Regions from separate parts of the Homo sapiens genome. Here region 2 is linked to region 1. The links are contacts of gene promoters, found by promoter capture Hi-C in human tissues and cell types (Jung and others, 2019). All regions are on one chromosome and are shown on one strand. The core of a region is centred on a gene start or on the middle of the fragment in contact, and the rest is flanking DNA. Distances in the headings are between cores, read along the strand shown.

The links. Contacts are between HindIII fragments. The study calls those that stand out against the background at their distance.
Region 2: a contact is called between a fragment that was not itself captured here and the fragment with the promoter of MCOLN2 in region 1, in 1 of the 25 tissues and cell types used here (heart left ventricle).

Annotation. Positions count from the first base shown.
Region 1 is chr1:84,992,684-84,999,085 of GRCh38, forward strand. MCOLN2 (mucolipin TRP cation channel 2) reads right to left here and starts at 4,430. Exons shown (of 14, transcript NM_153259.4): 1 at 4,113-4,430. The coding sequence starts at 4,189. RefSeq lists enhancers at 2,913-2,972, 5,293-6,164 and silencers at 3,773-3,822, 4,433-4,722. The HindIII fragment of the contact is 9,976 bases long and covers 1-6,402 here.
Region 2 is chr1:84,612,233-84,618,634 of GRCh38, forward strand. All of the region lies in intron 2 of LINC01461 (long intergenic non-protein coding RNA 1461), which reads right to left. Among named protein-coding and RNA genes, the nearest start is that of LINC01461, 5.6 kb to the right of the region's middle. The HindIII fragment of the contact is 3,736 bases long and covers 1,147-4,882 here.

The DNA.
Region 1 (6,402 bases), core at 3,180-5,679:
TTCCAGTGCATATAAAAGTTATGTTTACACTATACCATAGTCTATTAAGTCTGCAATAGCATTATGTCTAAAAAAACCACCTTAATTTAAAAGTACTTCATACTAAAAAATGCTAACAATCATCTGAACCTTCAGCAAGCTGTAATCTTTTTGCTGGTGGAGGGTCTTGCCTCCTTGTTGATGGCTGCTGACTGATCAGGGTGGTGGTTGCTGAAGGCTGGGGTGGTTAGGGCAATTTCTTAAAAGAAGACAACAATGAAGTCTGATATATCAATTAACTCTTCCTGTCACAAAATATTTCTCTGTTGCATGCAACGCTGTTTGATTGCATTTTACCTACAGTAGAACTTCTTTCAAAATTGGAGTCAGTCCTCTCAAACCTTGCTGCTGTTTTATCAACTATGTTTACGGAATATGCTAAATTATGTGTTGTCATTTCAACAATGTTCATAGCATCTTCACCAAGAGTAGATTCCATCTCAAGAAACCACTTTCGTTGCTCATCCATAACAAACAACTCCTCATCCATTCTAGTTTGATCATGAGATTGCAGCAATTCTGTCACATCTTCAGGCTTCTCTTCTAGTTTTCTGGGTATTTCCACCACATCTGTGGTTAGCAGATCGCTGCAAAAGTAATTGTGTTTTTTTGCCATTAAAAGTAAGGACAAAACCCACAATTACTTTTTCACTGACCTAATACTTCCTCTACTGAAATCTGGACCCCTTCAAAGTCATCCATGAGGGATAAAATCAACTTCTTCCAAACTCCTGTTAATGTTAATATTTTGACCTATTCCCATGAATCATGAATATTCTTAATGGCATCCATGATGATGAATCCTTTCCAGAAGGGTTTACTTTGTCCAGATTCATCAGAGGAATAATTTTCGATGGCAACCTATAATGTTACAAAATGTAGTTCTTAAATAATGTCTTTTTTTTTTTTTTTTTTTTTTGAGACGGAGTCTCGCTCTGTCGCCCAGGCCGGACTGCGGACTGCAGTGGCGCAATCTCGGCTCACTGCAAGCTCCGCCTCCCGGGTTCACGCCATTCTCCTGCCTCAGCCTCCCGAGTAGCTGGGACTACAGGCGCCCGCCACCACGCCCGGCTAATTTTTTGTATTTTTAGTAGAGACGGGGTTTCACCTTGTTAGCCAGGATGGTCTCGATCTCCTGACCTCATGATCCACCCGCCTCGGCCTCCCAAAGTGCTGGGATTACAGGTGTGAGCCACCGCGCCCGGCCAAATAATAAGTCTTGAAAGTTGAAATTACTCCTTGATCCATGGGCTGCAGAATGGATGTTGTGTTAACATATATGAAAACAACATTCATCTCCTTGTACATCTCCATCAGAACTTTTCAATGATCAGAGGTATTATCAATGAGCAGTAATATTTTGAAAGAAATCTTTTTTTCTGAGCAGTAGGTCTCAACCATGAGCTTAAAATATTCAGTAAATCATGCTGTAAACAAGTGTACTGTCATCTAGGCTTTGTTGTTCCATTTACAAAGCAGAGGCAGAGTAGATTAACATAATTCTTAAGTGCCCTAGGATTTTTGGAATGGTAAATGAGCACTGGCTTCAACTTAAAAGTCACCAGCTGTACTAGTTCCTAACTAGAGAGTCATCCTGTCCTTTGCACCTTTGAAATCAGATGCTGGCTTGTCCTCTCTACTAGGAAAGTCCTAGATGGCATCTCCTGCCAATAGAAGGCTGTTTTGTCTACATTGAAAATCTGTTGTTTAGAGTAGCCTCCTTCATCAATGATCTTAGCTACATCTTCCAACTAACTTGCTGCAGCTTCTATATCAGCACTTTCTGCTTCGCCTTGCACTTACATGTTATAGAGATGGCTTCCTTTCTTAAAGCTCATGAACCAACCTCTGCTAGCTTGAAACTTTTCTTCTGCAGCTTCATTACCTCTCTCAGCCTTCACAGAATTGAAGAGAGTTTGGGCCTGCTCTAGATTATGCTTTAGCTTTAGTGAATGTTGGTGCTGGTTTGATCTTCTATCCAGACCACAAAAACTTTCTCCATAACAGCAATAAGGCTGTTTTGCTTCCTTATCATTTGTATTTTCACTGGAGTAGCACTTATAATTTCCTTCAAGAACATCTCATATGCATTCAAAACTTGGCTAAATGGCACAAAATGCCTAGCTTTTGGTCTGTCTCAGCTTTCAACATACCTTCCTCACTAAGCTTAATCACTCCTACCTTTAAAGTAAGAGACCTGTGATTGTCCCTTGCACTCAAACACTTAGAGACCACTGTAGGGTTATTAGTTGGGCTAATTTCAATATTGTGGTGTCTCAGGGAATAGAGAGGGTTGGGGAGAGGAAAAGAGATAGAAGAATGGCTGGTCGGTGGAGTAGTCAGAACACATACAACATTTATTAATTGAGTTCCCTGTCTTATATGGGCACAGTTCATGGCACCCCAAAACAATTACAGTAGTCACATCAAAGATCAGTGGTCACAGATCACCATAACAGATATAATAATAATGATGAAAAAGTTTGAAATATTGAGAGAATTGCCACAATGTGACATAGAGACACAAAGTGAGCACATGCTGTTGGAAAAATGGCACCAATAGACTTGCTGGACACAGGGTTGCCACAAACCTTCAATTTGTAAAATAAAATAAAATTGAATTAAATGCAGTATCTACAAAGTGCAATAAAGCAAAGAACAATAAAACAAGGTATGCCTGCACTTTTTTCTATGAACCCCTTAACATGTGACACAAGAGCTCACTAAAGAGTGATTTAATTCTTCAGAACTGACACACGGAACTTAGACCCTAGGCCTTAAAGAAAACAGCCCAGCTTCAGGAAAGTCCACTTTTACTTTTACAGCCAGAAGAGTTTTCTTTGGCCACTACTTTTACTTTGAAAGCTATAGTCACAAGAAGCCATCTCTTTTTCCGCCGGTTTTAAAATTGTCTTGTTCTAGGTTTCACTTCACTGACAGAGACATAGCCAAAGAGATCAGCTTGTGAATATGATCATTCTTGACTTTCAGTTCTGTATTTCGTGCCCCTTTGCTCAAACTATGTCTCTCAGTTCTTCTCACTTGCTTCATTAAAATATTTTATATCTATTACTCTATTTTTTTAAAAAAAAACACTTTTGATATGTTCCTCCTTCACAGAAAAGAATGTGGCTACCTCAAACACTTTATTAGGATTCACTCATTTTTTATTACAGGAGGTTAAATAAAATTGGTATTATGATGGCCTCTGTATGGAAAATGTGTCGTTTTTAGAGTTCCGGCCACAGAAACTGACCTATGAACGGTTTTCTAAAGGAGAAGGGTGTGCCTGTGGAAAGTTCACGGCAACGGGAGTTTGACTCCTCTTAAGGTATGAAGAGGAAGACAGGCTAAAGTCTCAAGAAACTTCTGACTCAATAGGGGAAAGCTATCAAATTTCCCAAAAGTTGTGCGATTTTGGTTAGCACATCACAAAGGTGATGAGCAGCTCCTGAGAGTGAAACCCACATCCCATTTCTGGGGAGAACTACGTAGTTGGTTCCCTCTACATAAAATATCAGAGTCTACATCCTGACACCCATAAGAAACCTCTCCCACCTTTCTCTTACTAACCTTTTCTTCCATTCTCAGTTTACAATGACACACAATTTTGTTTCCCACAAGTACCGTTCAACCAGAGACACACACACTTACACATACGTATATATTTCATATATATATATATATATATATATATATATATATATATGTTTGGAGAGCAGGAAACGGGGGAGCCAAGGTCTGTTTGTACTCACAACTTTGGCTCAACTGTGCTGGGGTGGCTGGAGGTTTGACCACGGAGGAGGGGCCCGCTGGCAGCGCCAACCGGCTGAACTGTGCGCCTTTTCATAAAGGCCGAGGAACTGGGGTTAGCCACACTACAACCCTCCCACCTGAGGGAAAGGCCTGTTTGTTCTGGAAGGCACAGCCTAGCCTTATTTAACTAACTGCAAGCAGTTAATATAAGCATTCCCAAGGCAGCAAGCAAGCTCTAGTCTACGAAAGTAAAGCCATCGACTTTAGGAAGATTTCTCCAGTCCAGCATCCTGAAAGATGAAGCCCAGACTCCTCACCTGACGGTTAACCTGAAAACACCTGATCCTCTCTCCGGAATCCTTGCCTGGGGAAAACGATAAGGCTGCCGGGCCATGCCTCCTCCTTCAAAACTTTCCAGGGCTCTCGGGATTCGGAACAGGAAACACCGTTCACGGCCGACTCATTTCGCCCTCGCCGTAACGCGTCCGCCGAAGTTGGAGCCCTGCAAAGCGGGGTTCCCTTCTCTTACCCTTTCTGCCGGCCGCGTGGTGCGCGCAGACCCCGGCCCGAGAGCAGGCGCCGCAGTCGTGGAGTGCGGCGGGCAGTTCTCGGGCGGCTGAAAGGCGGCTCTGTGTGCACCCTGCAGGATGCGGCGCGTGGCCAGGCGCTCCCGCCCCGCCCCCAAGGGGCTGCCCCGCCCCGCCCCGCCCCGCCGCCTCCTACCGGGGACCGGAGCTTCCCCAGTTGGGGTCCTAGGGGACTTATTCCACGCTTCAGCGGACCAGCCTCCCCGCGCTCCCGGAGAAGGGGGTCGGCGACGCGGAGGCGGGGTGGGGGCCGTAGGGGATGGAACCGAGGCGCGCGCGAGAAGAGCCGAGGAAGTAAGCAGTCCCAAAAGGGGGCGGCGGTGGGGCCCCCAGGGAGGCGTGGGGCACGCCAAGGGCGCCGTGGGGCACTGACCTGTGGTGCGGCCCCCAGGACAGGCCCGAGGCGCGGTTGCACACCGGCAGGTCCAGCACCTCCATGCCTCGAGGCATGGCGCGGCCAGGGAGCGGCAGGAGGACACCTAGCGTGGGACGGCTACACCTGTCTGGGCGCAGGCCCGCCGCCCTTGCACTCTCCACCCAAGTGCCCAACGCTGCGGTACGGCCCGCTTTGGCTCGGGGTGTCTGCCGGAGAAGCGCCTTACAGAGGGACCCGGGCGGTGGGCCCTGCGGCAAAGTGGCCCACGCACCCTCCACACCGCTCCCGGGCGGCCGCACCTGGCACTCCCGGCCCTCTGGGGTTCCTGCCTTTTTCGGGGGGGTGGTGGTGAGACCGGGTCTCACTCTGTCGCCTGACCTGCGATCACTGCTGACTGCAGTCTTGAACTCCTGGACCCAAGCGATTCTCCTGCCTCCGCCTCCCAAAGTGCTAGGATTACAGGTGTAAGCCGCTGCGCCTGGCCCCTTCTTTTCTTCACTCTCTCATGCATTCATTTCTTGTTTCCACATGCATTAATTTGTCCGTTGCTTTGGTCATTCCTGTTTTGATGCTTAGGGAAACACTCACTGAGAGCCAAGCCGACCGTTGGGTACTGTGGTCTCTGGGATGACAAAGACATGGTCCTTTCCCTTGAGGACTTCACATTAAACTGACAAGTTCATTCATTCTGGCTTTTCTCTAAAGTGCACGATCATGAAAGTCTGTGACAAGGGCCATATTTCTGAGATGTTAGAAAGTGCGACCGGCGCGCAAGGAATAGGAAAAGCGAGTTGCCCTGCGCCCGCGTCGGGATGAAAGGCAGGGAGCCGGGAGGGAGCGTCAGCGTGGCCCGGCGGGCGCGGAGGGAGGGCGCACGGCCCCAGGGCTGGACTCGTAACCCCAGCGCCCTGCTGCAGCCGCCGTTGCTTTTCCCTCTTGGTGCACGAAAGGAAGACGCCTGTGGGAAATCGAACAGACAATCGGTCGCCGTTCGTGAATCTTAGAGATGAGAGTCGTCAGTACATGACCAAAAGCCGTGTTCGGCTCCTAGTGATGTTAGCTTGGTAGTTTGGACGTGGCCGACAGCCTCCTAGAGCTCGTACCCCTCCTTTTCACGAGGTAGCAGCAGCAAAGTCCGCAGTGCCAGGCTCTGTGAGTCTGCAAGCGTTTAAAAGATCTCCGGGTTTAGCTCAGGCAAAGAATATTCTGCCAGGTAATTATTTTAATATGCGTGTCCAGGCAGAAGCAGTTGGACAGACGATGTATATAAAAGCACACATAATTGACCCTCTTTTAAGGCACTTCCAAGGGGTTATTAGGCAGAAATGCCTTGGTTTTGAGCCCCTTTCATCGGAGGTGCGCAATCATCCAGCTTTGTGAATAGTAACTGCACTCCAGCCTGGGCAACATAGTAAGACCCCAACCTTTTGGCACCAGGGACTGGTTCCATGGAAGATGATATTTTCCACGGACAGGTGGGGGGATGAGGGGAGGATGTTTTCGGGATGAAACTGTTGCACCTTAGATCAGTAGGCATTAGAGTCTTATAAGGAGCACACAACCTGCAACTTAGATCCATCGCATGCGCAGTTCACAGTAGGGCTTCTGCCCCTATGAGAATCGAGTGGAACCGCTGCTCTCTTG
Region 2 (6,402 bases), core at 1,765-4,264, 380 kb before region 1:
TTTTCTTTTTTTTTTTTAAGAGAGAGTTGCTCTGTCGCCAGGCTGGAGTGCAGTGGCATGATCTTGGCTCACTGCAACCTCCGCCTCCCAGGTTCAAGCAATTCTCCTGCCTCAGCCTTCCGAGTAGCTGGGACTACAGGTACGCACCACCACACCCAGCTAATTTTTGTATTTTTAGTAGAGACAGGGTTTCACCATGTTGGCCAGGATGGTCTCGATCTCTTGACCTCGTGATCTGCCCGCCTCAGCCTCCCAAAGTGCTAAGATTACAGGTGTGAGCCACCGTACCTGGCCAACCCTGACATTTTTACTAAAACTTGACAACCTGCTCTGGACCCCTCTCTGTGACAGAGAGCTGTTCTTTCCTTTTGCCTATTAAACTCCTGCTCCAATCTCACTCTGTGTGTGTGTCTGTGACCTCAATTTCCTTGACTGTGAGACCAAGGACCCTGGTATTTACCCCAGACAATGAGGCTCCTTCAGTGAGATTAGAGGCATGAGCTACCACATAGCCGGAGTCTACATACTCTTAACCCTCTGGTCTAAGAGAGGAGGCAGCTTTGGAGCCATTATCAATATTCACGAGTTCGACAAACATTGCCTCAGCAACTCCACCTTGCCAGACTGAGAATACAAATAGAAATGCAGAAAGGGTCAGATGCAATGACAGCTGCTTATATTCCTGTTCTCAAGGAGGGCACATTTTATCAGGAAAAAGAGATCTGTAATCAATAAATATGATTCCTCTAAGAATGTTAACCAAAGATTGTTCAAAGTGCTACTCAGAGCCAGCAGCAACCAGCATGGATTTGCTTTGCTAAGGATGATGTTGGATTTGGATATTGAAAGAGTAGCATAAGCTCACAAAGCAGAGAAAGGAGGGAGGGAGGAAGATAAGATTCAGGGCAGAAGGAAATGCAGAAATGACTTAAAGGAAGCCTTACCATCTTGGCAAGTCTGGCAAAGAATGACTTATCTCATGAGGCTGGATTGAGACATGTTTACCAGACACTCTGGATCGACTCACTCAACATCTGTTCCCAGTGTTCTGCCTGTTCTACAGATCTAGAAATAAAGCCACGTTTCCAGAATTCCTTGAAGCTATGGTTCTGGATGTGATTCTGCCAAACAGATCTACTTTGGAAGGCCTACCAGTCTGTGGTATGCAGTGGCAGAACAGTTATTTAAATTATCACTTGTAGGCCAGGCATGGTGGTTCATGCCTGTAATCCCAGCACTTTGGGAGGCCGAGGAGGGTGGATCACCTGAGGTCAGGAATTTGAGACCAGCCTGGCCAACATGCTGAAACCCCGTCTCTACTAAAAATACAAAAATTAGCCAGGAGTGGTTGCAGATGCCTGTAATCCCAGCTACTCAGGAGGCTGAGGCAGGAGAATCTCTCGAACCCAGGAGCCAGAAGTTGCAGTGAGCCAAGATCGCACCATTGCACTCCAGCCTGGGCAAGAAGAGTGAAAATCCATCTCAAAATAAATACATTGTCACTTGTAGTCACCTGGGAGAAAAAGTATCCATGGAAATCAAAACGCTGGAAGGCCAAGTGGCTATGGTAATAAATCTTCATGGCAAGAGTGAATAATTCAAAGATAGTGGGGTTGGCTAGCTTCTTGAATTCTTATGAACATAAAGAAAGAAAAACATAAGCATGGAGTGACCTGTAGCATCCCAGATCTGGTACCAAATTCTGTGTCAATTAGGATTAGGCACAGCAGCAAGGGACAGATACTCAGAATAACAGTGGCTTGACCAAGTTATGGAAACACCAGGGGTTCAGTCTAGGTACTGACGCACAGAAAGCCAATCACTGAGACAATAAGTATTGCCAAGGAAGAAGGCTTTAATCGGGTGCTGCAGCCAAGTTATGAGAGCTCAGTCTCAAATCCATCTCCCTGACTGACTAAATCTAGGGGCTTACATAGCAGGGAAGATATGTAACAATGTTTAAGAAAACAGGAACTAGGGAGGGGCAAGGAGGCATCTGGTGTCAGTTCTCTTGATACTTTTTTGAGAGGCCTGAAGGTCCTTTCCTGAGGAGGGAACTCAGATAAAACAAATGCAAATTTCAAGCTAGGGGCCATTTCTATGTTTATCCCAAAACAACTGTTTATGGAACTGTTGGGCCCATTTCATTTCTCACAGAAAGTTCCAGAGGTAGGTACTCAGGCTGTGGCAGTTCTGCTCCATAGTACCTTCCAGCTTGCTGCCTCTCCTTCCCTTGGGTGTGATCCTCATGTTCATAGTCCAAGATGGTAGCCATCATGTCTGTATTCCAGGCTATAGGATGGAGAAGGCAGCAAACAAAAAGGGAGGGCAAAGGACATGTGTTTCCTCCCTCCTGAAAAAGTTCTTGGAAACTCTCACATGATACTTCTGTTTACATTCCACTGTACAGAACTTTGTCACCTGGCCACATCTAACTGCAAAAGAGAGGACATGTAATCAGCAATCACTATTTTAATCAGGAAGATGAAGAGAATGTAAAATTGGGAGGCAATCATAGGATGCATGGTAGAGAGTATCAGAGGAGGTAGCTGGGATGATGGGCACCAGATGGGAAAGGACTTGATATGACAAGCCAAGGTGTTTGGACTTTATCCTACTGGCAATGAAGAATCATCAGATAGGTTTAAAGAGCAGAGAGATATAAACTGAGCTGTTCCACTGCCATCTCTCTGACAGCTATATGAAAGGGTTCTGGCGCAGTAATACCAAACCCCAGAGACCTGTTAGAAAGCAGTTACCCCAAAATGACAGTTTCTTCAATAAATGGTGCTGGGGAAGCTGGATATCCACATGCAGAAGAATGAAACTAGACACCTATTTCTCACCATATACAAAAATCAACTCAAAATGGAATGAAGATGTAAACGGAAGACCTAAAACTATAAAACTACTAGAGTACAACATAGGAGAAATGCTTCATGACATTGGTCTGGGCAAGAATTTTTTGGAAAAAACCTCGAAAGCACAGGCAACAAAAGCAAAAATAGACAAATGGGATTACATTAAACTGTAAAGCTTATGCACAGCAAAGGAAACCATCAACAAAGAGGCAACCTACAAAATTGGAAAAAAATGTCTGCAAACTATGCACTGGTGTAATGGGTTAATATTCAGAATATGTAAGAAATTCAATTCTAGCACTTTGGGAGGCCGAGGTGGGTGGATCACCTGAGGTTAGGAGATCGAGACCAGCCTGCCCAATGTGGTGAAAACCCGTCTCTACTAAAAATGCAAAAACTAGGTGGGTATGGTGGTGGGCACCTGTAATCCCAGCTACTTGGGAGGCTGAGGTAGGAGAATTGCTTGAACCCAGGAGACAGAGGTTGCAGTGAGCCAAGATCACACCACTGCACTCCAGCCTGGGTGAAAAGAGTGAGACTTCATCTCAAAAAAAAAAAAGAAAGAAAAAAGAAACAGAATATGTAAGAAATTCAAACAACTCAATAGCAAAAGAAAAAAAAAAGCCCATATAATCCAATCGAAAATGGGAATAAGACCTGAGTAGACATTTCTCAAAAGAAGACATACATACATATATATATATATATATATGTATATGAAAAAATGCTCAACATCAGTAATCATTAGGGAAATGCAAATGAAAACCACAATGAGATATCACTGCACCCCAGTTAGAATGGCAAAAAAAAAAAAAAAGACAAAAAATAACAATTACTGTTGAGGATGTGAAGAAAGGGGAACTCATATGCTGTTGGTGGGAATGTAAATTAGCATAGACACTATGGAAAACAATACGGAAGTTCCTCAAAAAATTAAAAATAGGACTGCTGTATGATTCAGCAATTCCACTACTGGATATATATCCAAAGGAATGGAAATCAATAAGTCAAAAGAGATATTGGCACTCCCATGTTCACTGCAACACTATAGTAAGGGCTTAGCACAATAGCCAAGAGATGAAATCAAGCTAAGTATCCATCAGTGCATGAATGGATAAAGAAAATGTGAGATATATATATATATATCTCCATATATATGCAATACTATTCAGTCATAAATAGGGACAAAATCCTGTCATTTGCAACAGCGAGGATGAACCTGGAGGACATCATGTTAAGTGAAATAAGCCAAGCACAGAAAGACAAATGATCTCACTCACATGTGGAATCTATAAAAGCTGATCTCATAGAAGCAGAGGGTAGAACAATGGTGACCAAAGGCTCCGGAGGGGATGTTACAGTTAGATAGGAAAACTAATTTCTCGTATTCTGTACATAGTAGGGTGACTATAGCTAATAACAATAATAACTGCTTTGTACATTGCAAGATACCTAGGAAACACCTTTAAAGTTATCACAAAAAAATGATAAAGGCTTGAAGTGATGGACAACTATTCTGATTTGATCATTACATAATATATACATGTATTGAAACATTACACTGTACCCACAGACATGTATACTTATTATCAATTATAAATAAAAATTTTTAATGGAAACAAGAAAGCAGTTGCCCTAGTCCAGGTGAGAAGTGATGAGAGCCTGAAATAGGGCAGTGACAATGGGATGGAAACAAGAGAATGGAAGGGTGAGATATGCTAGGGTAGGAGGGGACAGACTTTGGTGACTATTAGACAATGGAGGTGAAAGAAGAGTGTGGAGTTTAGGCTGACACCAGGGTTTTTGGCTGGAGCAGTTTGGTAAATGACACTGCTACTAACCAAAATAAAGGAATCAGAGAGTGAAGAAGGCTGCTGATAGCAAGCAGAATGTGATTAGTTTGATTTGGAATATTTTCAGTTTAAAGTGCTTGTTGTGTGGAAGATGTTTGGCGAGCAGAGAAATACATGTGTCTGGAGCACTGAAGAGAAGTCAGGGCTGGAGGTACCAATTCAGGAGGTGTGCGACTCTAAGTGACAGCTGCAGCCACAAGTTTGAGATGGCCTGACCTAGAAAAGAATGAGGGAACAGAGTCAAGGATGAAGCCTACGGAAGCACCAATGTTGTGTGAGTCTTCTGCAGAGTCCTTTCTGATGGAAGGTCCTTTAAGAAGCGCAGTTCAAGAAATCTGAGGCTGCAAATGCATGCTGTTTCCCCAGACATCCAGGACCTGGATCAGTTTTCCATTTCAAGACAAGATAAAACTGCTAAAGGGTTTTTCTTTCCCTGGTTGAAATACTTTAACACCAACTAATTTCAAGTTTGGAAAGAAAGTCATGTTTAAGATTGAAGTTGTTATTTCTACTCTGTAATACAGTAGAGCCTGTGCCCAGAAAACCTCCTGCCTGTCTCATCATCCAGGGAGCTTCCTTGTGTTTATTCTACCAGGCCTGCGGGCAGGACAATGTCAGCAGGTTGAGATATGAGCTACACGTTGCAGGCATTGACAGATCAGGAGAGCTCTCCTACAAACTGCATGCCCTTCTTAATTGCTTTTAAGCATGGGAAGATGAATGTTGTCCTAGTATCTGCTTCAGTTCTAGAAAAGGTTAAAAAAAGTTGTTTGTATATAGTACTCCTTTCATTTCAATTGATTCTTATTGTGCTTCCCCTCAACTCATTTAAGTTGTTGGCTAGTACAACCCACCTTCAAAGCACTGCTTTTTTGAAATTCAATGATTATAATTTGGAAGAGACTTTAGACCAAAGAGTATGATATCAAAATTCTCAGTTCTTTGGGTGGTCACTAGCAGAGTGCCTTCAACAGACAAAAATCCAAGTAAAAAGACCTTCAATTATAATACCTAGAAAGTACAGTAAAATTCAACGGAAACAAAAACAATCTCATCTAAAATTAAAGTAAATGGTAGTATACCTGTCTAAATTAGAAAGTGTGGTTGCAGGATTAGTATAAGATCCCAGAATTAGTATGAATTCAGCCAAATATCTAACATTTCTCACCTCAATGTTCTTGATACTGTTCACTGATACTCAGCATCATGGCCCTAAAATGTTAAGACTAGGTCCCATCAAATAAAGATTCAATTATAATCACTGGGTTGTAGTGACTAAGCCAGGCAAATGGGCAAAATGCAAGTTGGTAACAATATTTTCATTTTGGAAAAATGAAAAATTAAGGAAAATATGACAAAATATTCTATAAGGTGAATTTCTTTTTTAAGAGCCTTTGTTCTGAGATCATGTCCATTTCTTGTGGTCTACATGTCTTTCTTTTGTAAAAAGAGTAGTGCCAGTAAATGGCAGGTTCCTAATAATTTCATTCGACAAACCAAAAGCTGGCATACCATTGCCAATTCCTAAAGTTGTTTTGGAATTTTACTTGGTGAAATGTTAAAGTCTGAGAATGTCCCTGGAGTAATGGCTCCCTGCTGCTGATCATACTGGCTGATGAAGTAGATACTCTACAGGAACTTACTAGAAATGGTTGATCCGCAGGGAATGAAAGGCTTACACAGGGCTC